2 separate regions of the Homo sapiens genome follow, and region 2 is linked to region 1. The links are contacts of gene promoters, found by promoter capture Hi-C in blood cells and fetal thymus (Javierre and others, 2016). All regions are on one chromosome and are shown on one strand. Each heading gives the region's core, a stretch centred on a gene start or on the middle of the fragment in contact. The rest is flanking DNA. Distances are from core to core; before and after follow the strand shown. Region 1 holds the start of ABCD4 (ATP binding cassette subfamily D member 4). Region 2 overlaps NPC2 (NPC intracellular cholesterol transporter 2).

The links. The method cuts DNA at HindIII sites, captures the fragments that hold promoters and counts their contacts. A CHiCAGO score of 5 or more calls a contact.
Region 2: a fragment that was not itself captured here is called in contact with the fragment with the promoter of ABCD4 in region 1 in 1 of 17 cell types (endothelial precursors); the score reaches 5.8 in endothelial precursors.

The regions. Positions count from the first base shown.
Region 1 is chr14:74,299,858-74,305,147 of GRCh38, forward strand. It overlaps ABCD4 (ATP binding cassette subfamily D member 4), which reads right to left and starts at 3,077. Exons shown (of 19, transcript NM_005050.4): 1 at 3,018-3,077; 2 at 293-411. The coding sequence starts at 3,055. It also overlaps a transcript of VRTN not described here. RefSeq lists a silencer at 2,826-2,905 and an enhancer at 3,166-3,525. The HindIII fragment of the contact is 30,195 bases long and covers 2,166-5,290 here.
Region 2 is chr14:74,484,818-74,490,746 of GRCh38, forward strand. NPC2 (NPC intracellular cholesterol transporter 2) reads right to left here. Exons shown (of 5, transcript NM_006432.5): 2 at 1,512-1,619. Among named protein-coding and RNA genes, the nearest start is that of NPC2, 5.5 kb to the right of the region's middle. RefSeq lists an enhancer at 2,973-4,172. The HindIII fragment of the contact is 2,051 bases long and covers 1,156-3,206 here.

The sequences.
Region 1 (5,290 bases), core at 1,827-4,326:
TCGAGATCAGCCTGGCCAAGATGGTGAAACCCTGTCTTTACTGAAAAATACAAAGTTTAGTCGGGCGTGGTGGTGGGTGCTTGTAATCCCAGCTACTCAGGAGGCGAAGGCAGGAGAATCACTTGAACCAGGGAGGCAGAGGTTGCAGTGAGCTGAGATTATGTCACTGCACTCCAGCCTGGGCAACAAGAGAGAAACTCTGTCTCAAAAAAAAAAAAAAAAAAAAAAAAGATGGAAAGGGACCCCAAACCAGAGCTCCCCTCCCTCCTCTAGTCTGGGCTCACTCACTCACCCAGTAGGGTCAGGCACAAAAGGGTCAGGAACATCAAGGCATTTTGTGATGACCAAGAAGGAAACAAAACCTTCAGTATCTGCAGGAACCGCTGGAGAAATTGCAGATCTAACCTGGGCCTGAAGAGAAGGTGGGGAGGCAGAGAAAAGCCCAAGACAATAATTAAGCCTTAGGGAGTAGTTATTAAGCTCATCCACATTGTTCTGTAGAGGGTCCAGGCCATGCAGAAAGAATGGTTTTCAAATGCTGAAGATGGTAGGCTGGGAACAGACCACGGATACAAAGGAAATTCTTTGGCCAAGCGTGGTGGCTCATGCCTGTAATCCCAGCTACTCGGGAGGCTGAGTCAGGAGAATTGCTTGGACCTGGGAGGCAGAGGTTGCAGTGAGCTGAGATTGCGCCATTGCAACAAGAGCCTGGGCAACAAGAGCAAAACTCCGTCTCAAAAAAAAAAAAAAAACCAAAAACAAAAAACTTAAAAAATTACAAATGGATTAAAAATCTAAACGTGAAAAGTAACACTATCATGTTAATAGAAGGAAATGTAGAAAAATGTCTTAATGAAGATACCTTAAAAACCTATACAGGGGAAAACTGATGAATTTAACTTCATTAGAGTTAAATGTTTTTATTCAACACAGTGCCATAGATTAAGTTAGAAGACTTGGAGGTGGTATCTGCAGAGTGCAAAACCAACAAGGACTTGAAATCTTTATTTTTTTGAGACGGAGTTTTGCTCGTTGCCCAGGCTGGAATGCAACGGCGCAATCTCGGATCACTGCAACCTCCGCCTCCCTGGTTCAAGTGATTCTCCTGTGTCAGCCTCCTGACAAGCTGCAATTACAGGTGCATGCCACCACGCCCGGCTAATTTTTGTATTTTTAGTAGGAGACGGGGTTTCATCATATTGGTCAGGCTGGTCTCGAACTCCTGACCTCCGGTGATCCACCTGCCTCGGCCTCCCAAAGTGCTGGGATTACAGGCGTGAGCCACCGCGCCTGGCCTAAAATCTTTTTTTTTTTTTTTTTGAGACAAGGTCTTGCTCTGTTGCCCAGGCTGGAATGCAGTGGTGCGATCTCAGCTCAGGGCAACCTCTGCCTCCCGGGTTCAAGCGACTGTCCCACCTCAGCCTTTTTAGTGGCTGGGAGTACGGGCGTGCGTCAACACGCTCAGCTAATTTTTGTATTTTTGGTAGAGATGGGGTTTCACCATGTTGCCCAGGCTGATCTTGAACTCCTGGACTCCAGTGGTCCACCTACCTCAGCCTCCCAAAGTGATAGGATGACAGGTGTGAGCCACCGGGCATGGCCAGGATCTAAATCTAGAGCCTACAAGAATTCCTGCAAGCCAGGAACATAGGAAATCCACAGAGAAGTGGGAAGGGATATAAACAGGCAATTCAAAAAAGGGAAAACCCACGTTTAATAAACACATGAAAATGTAGGCCGGGAGCAGTGGCTCACGTCTGTAATTCCTTTATGCACTGCCCGTCGGGAAGTGTAATCCCTGCACTTCGGGAGGCCGAGGCGGGTGGATCACCTGAGGTCAGGAGTTCAAGACCAGACTGGCCAACCCCCCCATCTTTGCTAAAAATACAAAAAATTAGCTGGGTGTGGTGGCGCGCGTCTGTAATCCCAGCTACTCAGGAGGCTGAGGCAGAAGAATCGCTTGAACCCGAGGCGGAGGTTGCAGTGAGCCGAGATCATGCCACTGCATTCCTGCCCGAGCAACAAGAGCAAAACTCCGTCTCAAAAGAAAGAAAGAAAGAAAGAAAGAAAATGTACACGATGGGATACCACCTTACACCCCCCAGACTGATAAACATTACAAAACCAGCCGCCACTGAACGATGGAGGGATACCGGGAAACAGGAAGCTTTATGCACTGCCCGTCGGGAAGTATAAACTAGTGTGACCATTCCAAAGAACAATCCAGCAAAATTAGATATGACCAGGACCCAACTCTGGGGTGGATACCCAGAGAAATGCAACAATATGCACAAGGAGACAACTGCCAGAATATTCGTTACAGTGTGGCTTGTGGGGGTGTTAATACTAGAAAAAAATCTATCCACCACTAGGGGAATAAGTCTATGCACACAGCACCCCTCATGCAAGCACTCAGAAGTGAAAACAAGATGACTAGCATGGATGGACTCAAAAACACAATGTTGAGGAAAAAGGTTTAAAGAAAAATCACAGCATATTATATTGAAGAATTCGAAACCGCTATATAGATTTCAAAGTAACACTTGCACAAATTTACCCAAGGTGGACCGTAAAGCCACTTATATAACACACCAGAGTGGCTGTCTGAAAAGGGGAGTGAAAGGGGTCTGGGAATAGGAACGAAGAGAGGAAGTGATAAAATAAACAAGGAGCCTTGCATTGGCCCACAGGGTGTCAAGAACTGAGAAGGATCAACTCAATTTTGTGCACCTGAGGTTCTTCTTTTCAAAAAAAGAATGCCAGTTGCGAGGGTGAGGGTCCCACACCGCAGGAGATGGCACAAGTCCGGCCAAGAACGGAGGGGGCCGCGGCCGGTGCGGAGCGGCCTAGAGCGGCGGGAGGGCGGACGCCCCTTCGAGAGCTCCTCTTTCTCTCAGAAGTCACGGGGGCGAGACGGGGGCGCCAGGGCGGCGGACGAGGCACGGAGGGCAGGAAAGCCCATTCCCTACAGCCCGGAACTCCTGCTCCCAAACCTCCTCCCCGACCGCCCTGCTTACCTGGCGCCAGCTCCGGGCGCGGGCCCCGCGACCGCCATGACCTGAGACCCGAGGGACTCTGGAGCCCAGCTGCCCCTAGTTCAGTACTGGGTAGAGTCCGAGGAGGGGCGGGGCCCCGGCTACCACAGAGACGGCGTTTGATAGAGAGGAAGGTGCGGGAGACGCGGACTCTCCCGGAAGCGACCGACGTCTCTAAAAGTACCAGAGAGTGGACTCGGCTGACCCGGCGGCTACAGCGCCCCCATATTTTCTGGGAGACTTCCCTTTTGACAATAGGTATCCGAGAGTGTAACTACTTTATGGCAAGTATTTTAGATTCTGTGTATAATAGATGTTTTACATATTCTCCCAGAGAAGCCAGCATGATCTTTAAAAAAGTATAAATTAGGCTTCCAGCCGGGCCCGGTGGGTTACTCCTGTAATCCCAGCACTTTGGAAGGCCAAGGCGGGAGGATCGCTTGAGCCCAGGAATTCAAGACCAGCCTGGGCAACATGGCAAGACCCCGCCTTTACAAAAGACAAAAGCATTAGCCGGGGATGGTGGCGAGCGCCTGTGGTCCGAGCTACTCTGGAGGCTGAGGCAGGAGAATCACTTGGGCCCGGAAGGTCAAGGCTGCAGTGAGCCGTGACTGTGCCACTGCACTCCAGCCTGGGCGACAAAGAGAGACCCTGTCTCAAAAACAAATAAATAGATGATAATGATCGATAGATAAGATAGATAGTTGAATGAATGAAATGCTTATCAGTTGACTGATTAGTACCCAAAGGGAGGTGGGAAATGGCTCAAAAAAAACCCAAACAGCATGATCCCACAGGTCCCTAAATTTGAATCTGGATGTGTCTTCTCACTTTCCTCCAATCCTTATTAAGTTTCAACTGCAAGCCAAACACTCTACAACATGCATGTATCACTTGTCTTTATGAAAGTTGCAGTCTAGCTGGGTAGGTCAATCAGTTGACAATTACAGATTTTTTTTTTTTTTTTTTTTTTTTTGATACGGAGTGTTGCTTTTGTTGCCCCGGCTAGAGTGCAATGGCGCGATATCGGCTCACGGCAACCTCAGCCTCCCGGATTGAAGCCATCCTCCTGCCTCAGCCTCCCGAGTAGCTAGGATTACAGGCATGTGCCACCACGCCCAGCTAATTTAGTATTTTTAGTAGAGACAGGGTTTCTCCATATTGGTCAGGCTGGTCTTGAACTCCTAACCTCAGGTGATCTGCCCGCCTTGGCTTTCCAAAGTGTTGGGATTACAAGAGTGAGCCACCGCTCCTGGCCTTTTTTTGTTTTTGTTTTTGTTTTAGACGGAGTTTCGCTCTTGTGGCTCAGGCTGGAGTGCAATGGTGCTATCTTGGCTCACTGCAACCTGTGCCTCCCGGGTTCAAGCGATTCTCCTGCCTCAGCCTCCCGAGTAGCTGGGATTACAGGCATGCACCACTATACCCGGCTAATTTTGTATTTTTAGTAGAGACGTGGTTTCTCCATGTTGGTCAGGCTGGTCTCGAACTCCCGACCTCAGGTGATCCACCCACCTTGGCCTCTCAAAATGCTGGGATTACAGGTGTGAATCACCGTGCCCGGCCTACAGCTGTCTTTATGAAGTGCTATGACAAACATACCATACAGCAGGGGTTCTCAACTTTGGCGCCATTAAGTTTTGGGGCCTGATCATTCTTTGCTGTGTAGGCTTTCCTATGCAATGTAGGATGTTTAGCTGTATCCCAGGCCTCTACGCACTAGATGCCGGTGGCATTCCTTCTGACCTAGGCATCCCAAAATGTCTCTAAACATTGCCAAATGTCCCTTAGGGGAGAAAGGACCAAAATTCCAGCTTTACCCCACCCCCTAGCATTGAGAACCACTGCCCCAGAACCAAAGAGAAAGGCATTTAACTCAGCATGGGGAAAAGTGGAATCTAGAAAGACTTTGAAGAGGAAATAACTTTATTCAAGTATGTCTTTCTTATTTTGAAAACCAAAAAAATAGGATGCAATTTTTGAAAAATTAATAAGGCAACCAAAGTATTAAAGCAAGCAACGTCACCTCTCTAGGGTAATCTAGGTTTACAGATCTTGTCCCCTTTCAGTCTCAAAAATGTCCTAGTTTGGTATTCGGTGGCATTACTGTCCCAGGGTGCCTCAGCATTGTCTATTACTGTAAACTTTTAAGAAGTAGCAGGCTGGGCACGGTGGCTCACGCCTGTAATCCCAGCGCTTTTGGAGGCCGAAGCAGGCAAATCACCTGAGGTCAGGAGTTCAAGACCAGCCTGGCCAAC
Region 2 (5,929 bases), core at 931-3,430, 180 kb after region 1:
CATGGCCCTTCACAGTTTCTTAGGAGAATCAGAGATACCTGGATAAACAACCTTATCTAACAAGGCAACTGATTTTTGGCAGTAAACTTTCTGTTTGCTATTTATATCAGCTTCTGTCCAAGTATATTGTGTGTCTTAAATGTCATGGTCTGTAACAACAGTGAAAGAGGTAACCCTTTAGCAGGGTAAGATTAGGCTGGATCACAGTAGCTCCCACCTGTAATCCCAGCACTTTGGGAGGCTGAGGCGGGTGGATCATCTGAGGTCAGGAGTTTGAGACCAGCCTGGCCAACATGGAAAAACCCTGTCTCTACTAAAACTACAAAAATTAGCCGGGCGTGGTGGCGCATGCCTGTCATCTCAGCTACTCAAGAGGCTGAGGCGGGAGAATCGCTTGAGCCCAGGAGGCGGAGGTTGCAGTGTGCTGAGATTGCGCCACTGCACTCCAGCCTGGGTGACAGAGCGAGACTCTGTCACAAAAAAAAAAAAAAAAAAAAAAAAAAAAAAGAAATTGGGTAAGATTAGAAAGACATGCAATTCTTTATAAACTTTACCCTCCACATCACAAGATGGCCAGGAGGAATAAAGGTATTAAAAAATGAGGGCAATCAGACTTATGAGTTATTAGGGTATTTTGGAGACCCAGAAAATTGGTTCTGTTTCTTTCCTTCTGTCTGGGTTGGGGATGACTTGTTCAGAAGGCTTTTTTTTTTGGTTTGGAACAATAGAGAGGCCAGGGTATAGTCCAGAGAGGAAACAGGGAGCTAGTACTTAGAGCTGTCTTTAGGCTTATGAACAAAAGATGACAGGAACTTTGAGGTTTCTTATTAGACTGTCTAGTCTAGTTTCACAGGACAGAAAATGAGGAAAAGATTCAAGGAACATGCCCTGCTTAGTAATAAAAGATTTTACATTTGTCTAGATTCTTAAAAATCTCAAAGTGATGTGGTACAAGAAAGCAAAAAGTTCCAATGATATTTCTTGAATATTGGAGAAGAAAGCTCAGATTTCTTGGCTATTTCTTGGGTCCCCAGTGGGTTCCCTAAATCTTAAGGAGGCTGTTAAGTATTAGTTGCACCTTTATTTTCAGGTGGGATGTAGACTTAATAGCTGAAAGGCATTACTGCTTAAAACAACATTTTGGAGGAGTTCCAAAGCTTAAAGAATTGGGGTCCATACTAATACTCTGCAGTCTGTAGCTAAACAGAGCTGACATTCCCATCATAGCCTACTATGCAATATGGGTCAAGACAGAAAAGCCAAGCTGTCTTCTCTAACCTGTGAACACATGGACATCTCCCTGTTTGCTTAAAGGGAGTCTGGGAGCCATGGACCCTGCATGAGAAGGGTGTCCAAGGGCACAGTGAACCCTAGCTTTGCATGAGGTGCAAAAGAAATCATAAAATTCATGACTGCCAATTCCCCTCCCCTCCATTCCCATGCTTATTCCAACACTTGATATTTAGGTTATGCTGTAACATGAATTTGAGTTAAGAGCCACTTTTACGCACTGCTGGTGAAGGTGACATTGACGCTGTAAGACTGTCCTTTGCTCAGCTGGCAGGGTTGGGTGGGGCATGGGCTCACATTCACTTCCTTTATAACTCCATCCACAGAACCTGCAAAAGAAAAATGAATTGGAATAGGAGAATAGGAGGAGAAATAAGCCAGCTAGGCTGCCCACCACCTAATGGGAAGGTGCTCTGCTCTCCCATTTAGGGTCAACTCATTCTCCTCGGACTGTTTCCCAGGATGGAATCTTTAAGAATAATGCCCAATTAGAAGTCAGAATCTTGATTCATCTTGCTGCTAAAATCATAGCCTTTAATTCAGATGATAAAGAAGCTAGTTGGTTTTTTGATCAAGAGAAAGTTAATATTTGTCAAACTAAATAATATCAAGACCATATCCATAAATGATCATATTAAAGGAATTAAACTTCAATCAGAGAAATTCCAAACATTCCTAGAGTCTTATCTCGCATTCTTAATGGTAAGGGTCACAGTTTAAACTTAAACCTTGAAGACGTTTGCTTCAACCTTCCTTTGGATGAAAATATTCCTATTTTCCCTTTCTTTTTCTAGCATATAGATTAGCATGTAAATCTGATGAAAGTTGTTCACTACAGGAACAACTACATTTTTTTTTTTTTTGAGATGGAGTCTTGCTCTGTCACCAGGTTGGAGTGCAGTGGCACAGTCTCAGCTCACTGCAACCTCCACCCCCCGGGTTCAAACCATTCCCTGCCTCAGCCTCCTGAGTAGCTGGGACTACAGGCGAGTGCCATCATGCCCGGCTAAGTTTTTGTATTTTAGTAGAGACAGGGTTTCACTATGTTGGCCAGGATGGTCTTGATCTCCTGACCTCGTGGTCTGCCTGCCTAGGCCTCCCAAAGTGCTAGGATTACAGGCGTGAGTCATTGCACCCTCCCTGTTTTGTTTTTGTGGTTTTTTTTTGTTTTTTTTTTTTGAGACAGGGTCTCACTCTGTCACCCAGGCTAGATGCAATGGCACAATCTCAGCTCACTGCAGCCTCAACCGTCCCAGGCTCAAGTGATCCTCCTACTCCATCCTCCTGAGTAGCTAGAACAATAGGCATGCACCACCACACCCGGCTAATTTTTGTGTTTTGTAGAGACAGGGTTTCACCATGTTGCCCAGGCTGGTCTCAAACTCCTAGGCTCAAGCAATTTGCCCACCTTGGCCTCCCAAAGTCCTGGGATTACAGGCATGAGCCACCGCACCTGGCCAAAAACCGCACTTTATGCGGAAACAGCTAGAAAGCAAATGTAGAGCCTGAAACTCCGCGGAGGAAGATCAGAAATGAATTACAACATCTTTCTACCTCAAGTTCTACATGAGCAAACACTGATTGAGGGAGTCTGCTATTATTGCTTGGAAAGTCTGCCAGATCCCAAAACAGACTGAACCTTTCTTGAATCTGGCTTCAAGAGTTTTTAGTTCCTGAATCATTCATTTTTAGACTCTATGGAAATTGTACCTTGACTAGCAAGAATGAAGGAAAGCAGAGGCATCTGAAGAAAACATCTCACAACAATGGTATTTATCATCCTTGTTTTAGGGGTTAGAAACCAGAAGAGCAAAGATTACTGAGATTTGTCCAAGGTCACATTGCCTGGAAGGGGCAGATCGAAGACTCAATGGGTGGGCCTGACTTGGAAGCCCTTGTTACCGGAACCTGAAAGAAGCTTTAAATACGCAGCCATGTTGATGAATGGAAGGACACCCCAAGGAAATTTGCATCTGAGAACTACTTGAGGACTCTGGATGAAGGTCTGTCTCAAACTCAACTTTTCAGGTTTCTTAATTCAGCATCGCCTCTTTGCCCCTCACCATGATTCTCTTTCTATCGTAGAGGTTCAACCCCTATATCCTCTGTGATTTTCAGTGATGAAGTATCTTCTATCCAGATTTTGTACCCTTTCTCCCAAACTGCTGGTAAATCCTTTGCCCAGTATTTTGTCTTCCTGGAATCCCTTCTTTCTTTCACCCCAACTTGACTTCCTAGAGAAATAAGCAGCACTATTAAAGGTATAGGTAAAACGATGAAAAGTGTCAGAATATCAGTCTTGGCTTTTAAAATTAGGCTGATTCAAGGGTGGGCATGGTGGCTCATGCCTATAATCCCAGCACTTTGGGAGGCCAAGGCAGGTGGATCAAGAGGTTAAGAGTTCGAGACCAGCCTGACCAACATGGTGAAACCTCGTCTCTAATAAAAATACAAAAATTAGCCAGGTATGGTGGTGCTCACCTGTAATCCCAGCTACTCAGGAGGCTGAGGCAGGAGAATCGCTTGAACTGGGGAGGCAGAGGTTGCAGTGAGCCGAGATTGCGCCACTGCACTCCAGCCTGGGTGACAGAGCAAGACTCTGTCTCAAAAAATAAAATAAAATAAAATAAGACTGATTCCAGAAGCCTACTCACTTCCGAGTAAGCAGACTATGGAATTTAAGAGGAACTACCACTTAACACTGAACAGAGGAGTGACCCTAAACAGAAAAACCACCTACCATCTCTGAACTAGGAATGACCCTTAAGAGAGGAACTACCTCCCACTTCTGAATTGGGAACTGCACCATTTTCACTGCACTTCTGCAGTTTCTTCAATGATTTAGTCCTGTTCTTTAAGGCCCACTTATGAGTCATGAAATATTTTGGCTCCAAAAACAACAGGAAGTACCTTAAATCTTGACTAAGGTTGTTAAGATCTGGATTTTTTCCAAGAATCAAGGGGATGAAGAGGAGTACAGAGGTTAAGGTCTTTATAGTTTCAGTACAAGCTTAGGGCACAAGTTAAGCTTAACTCCAAATAGCACTGACTCACACAGCCAAGATGGCAGAAGTGCCAGCTGCATTAAAGAAGAATACTGCTACCTGAGTCTGGGTTTCATTTCCTCTGAAATATTAACTTGGCCTAGGTCTATATAGCTGCTGGGAATGATACACTTGCAAATACTGCATATGTTAAAAACATAAGGATGAGACCTAAGAAGGTACTAGAAAGAGTCAGAAATAGGATTTATCCCTGGGAATCCTCAAAACAAATACATATTTTTCAAAATTAAAAAATTTAAGAAAAGAAATTGGATTCATCTGACTTGTCCAGGTTGTTTCTAAGTAGTTTCAAAAACTGATTTTAAGCACACATCTGCAATCTACAGATGTATACTCGATTTTGGGAACCTGCGTTCTTAAAATAAGTGTGTGTGTGTGTGTCTGTGTGTGTATGTATGTATTTTAATCTCAGTCTAACCAAGGACAAAAGTACTTGTATACAATAAATGCTTGACCAAAAAAGGTTTAAATAAAGCCTTTAAAAATCCCATTTCCTCCTGCCCCAGAGACTGGGCAGTTGAATGGGAGAGAATGCAGGTGAACTGCCTGATAACAGTGCCTGTAACAGGGTAAGTTAAGTTCTGCCATTCAGCCATCATTGCTGAGAGGCAGACTCTGGTGCCGGATGCCTGGGTTTGAAATCTCACTATCTCTGCTACTTACTGTATAGCCTCAAGGCAAGATACTTTACCTCTCTGGAGATAATGGTGTAGCTGAGCTAACACAAATACAGATCTTAGGTAAGTGTTTGGAACATAGTGATACATATATTTACTATTATTATCATATCTGGATTTAGTCCATGAGTTTAATCTAGAATAGCTGCTCCTGGGTAGGTTAGCAAGTTCCCTTCTGACACAAAAACTGGACCTCTCACCTCAAATATACTTTGTGGATAGAAATTATGTTTCTAGCCAATAGGATGGACTCTTTCTGTCTCAAAAGTGGAATGCATGAAGACAGAGGCAAACTGCAGGTTGAGAGTACATTATCTGCTATGCAGTCAGTCACCAGATTAGCTCAGTACTATAAAAGTATGATATGAACTCAGAAATCTAAGTAGATGTTCTTTGCTGCCTGTACCTACCCTTGGGTGGAACAGTCTCTTTAACTATCATCACACTGACCAACACTGCTCCAGCTAGGTCAGTAAATAGTACCTTGCAGTCCTTTATCCCTCAGCTTGCTTCTCCATCATTGCAAAGTTCTTAAACTGCACACACTCTTAAGCATCCAAAACAGTTTGAGAAACACTCTCTTCCACTCCAACCCATTTTTGGTGAATAGGGAAAAAAGAAATCCCGAACTTCAATCAACAATCTATTGAAAATCAGTGCTAATGTTAAGGCTTTCAATGTCCAGCTTCCACCTGCTTCTTTCAAGGCTGAGTCACATAATCTAGTAGGAAGTAAGTAAAGGGTAGTACTTATAGCTCTTTCATCCAGTTTTCTGATGACAAGAGGTTCTTAGACTTCCAGTGTCAATAGAACAAACTCCTCTGTTCTAACCAGCAAACATTACAAAATTAGTTTGCTTGGTCCACTTTCTCACTTGAGGAAATCCCACGCCAGGGA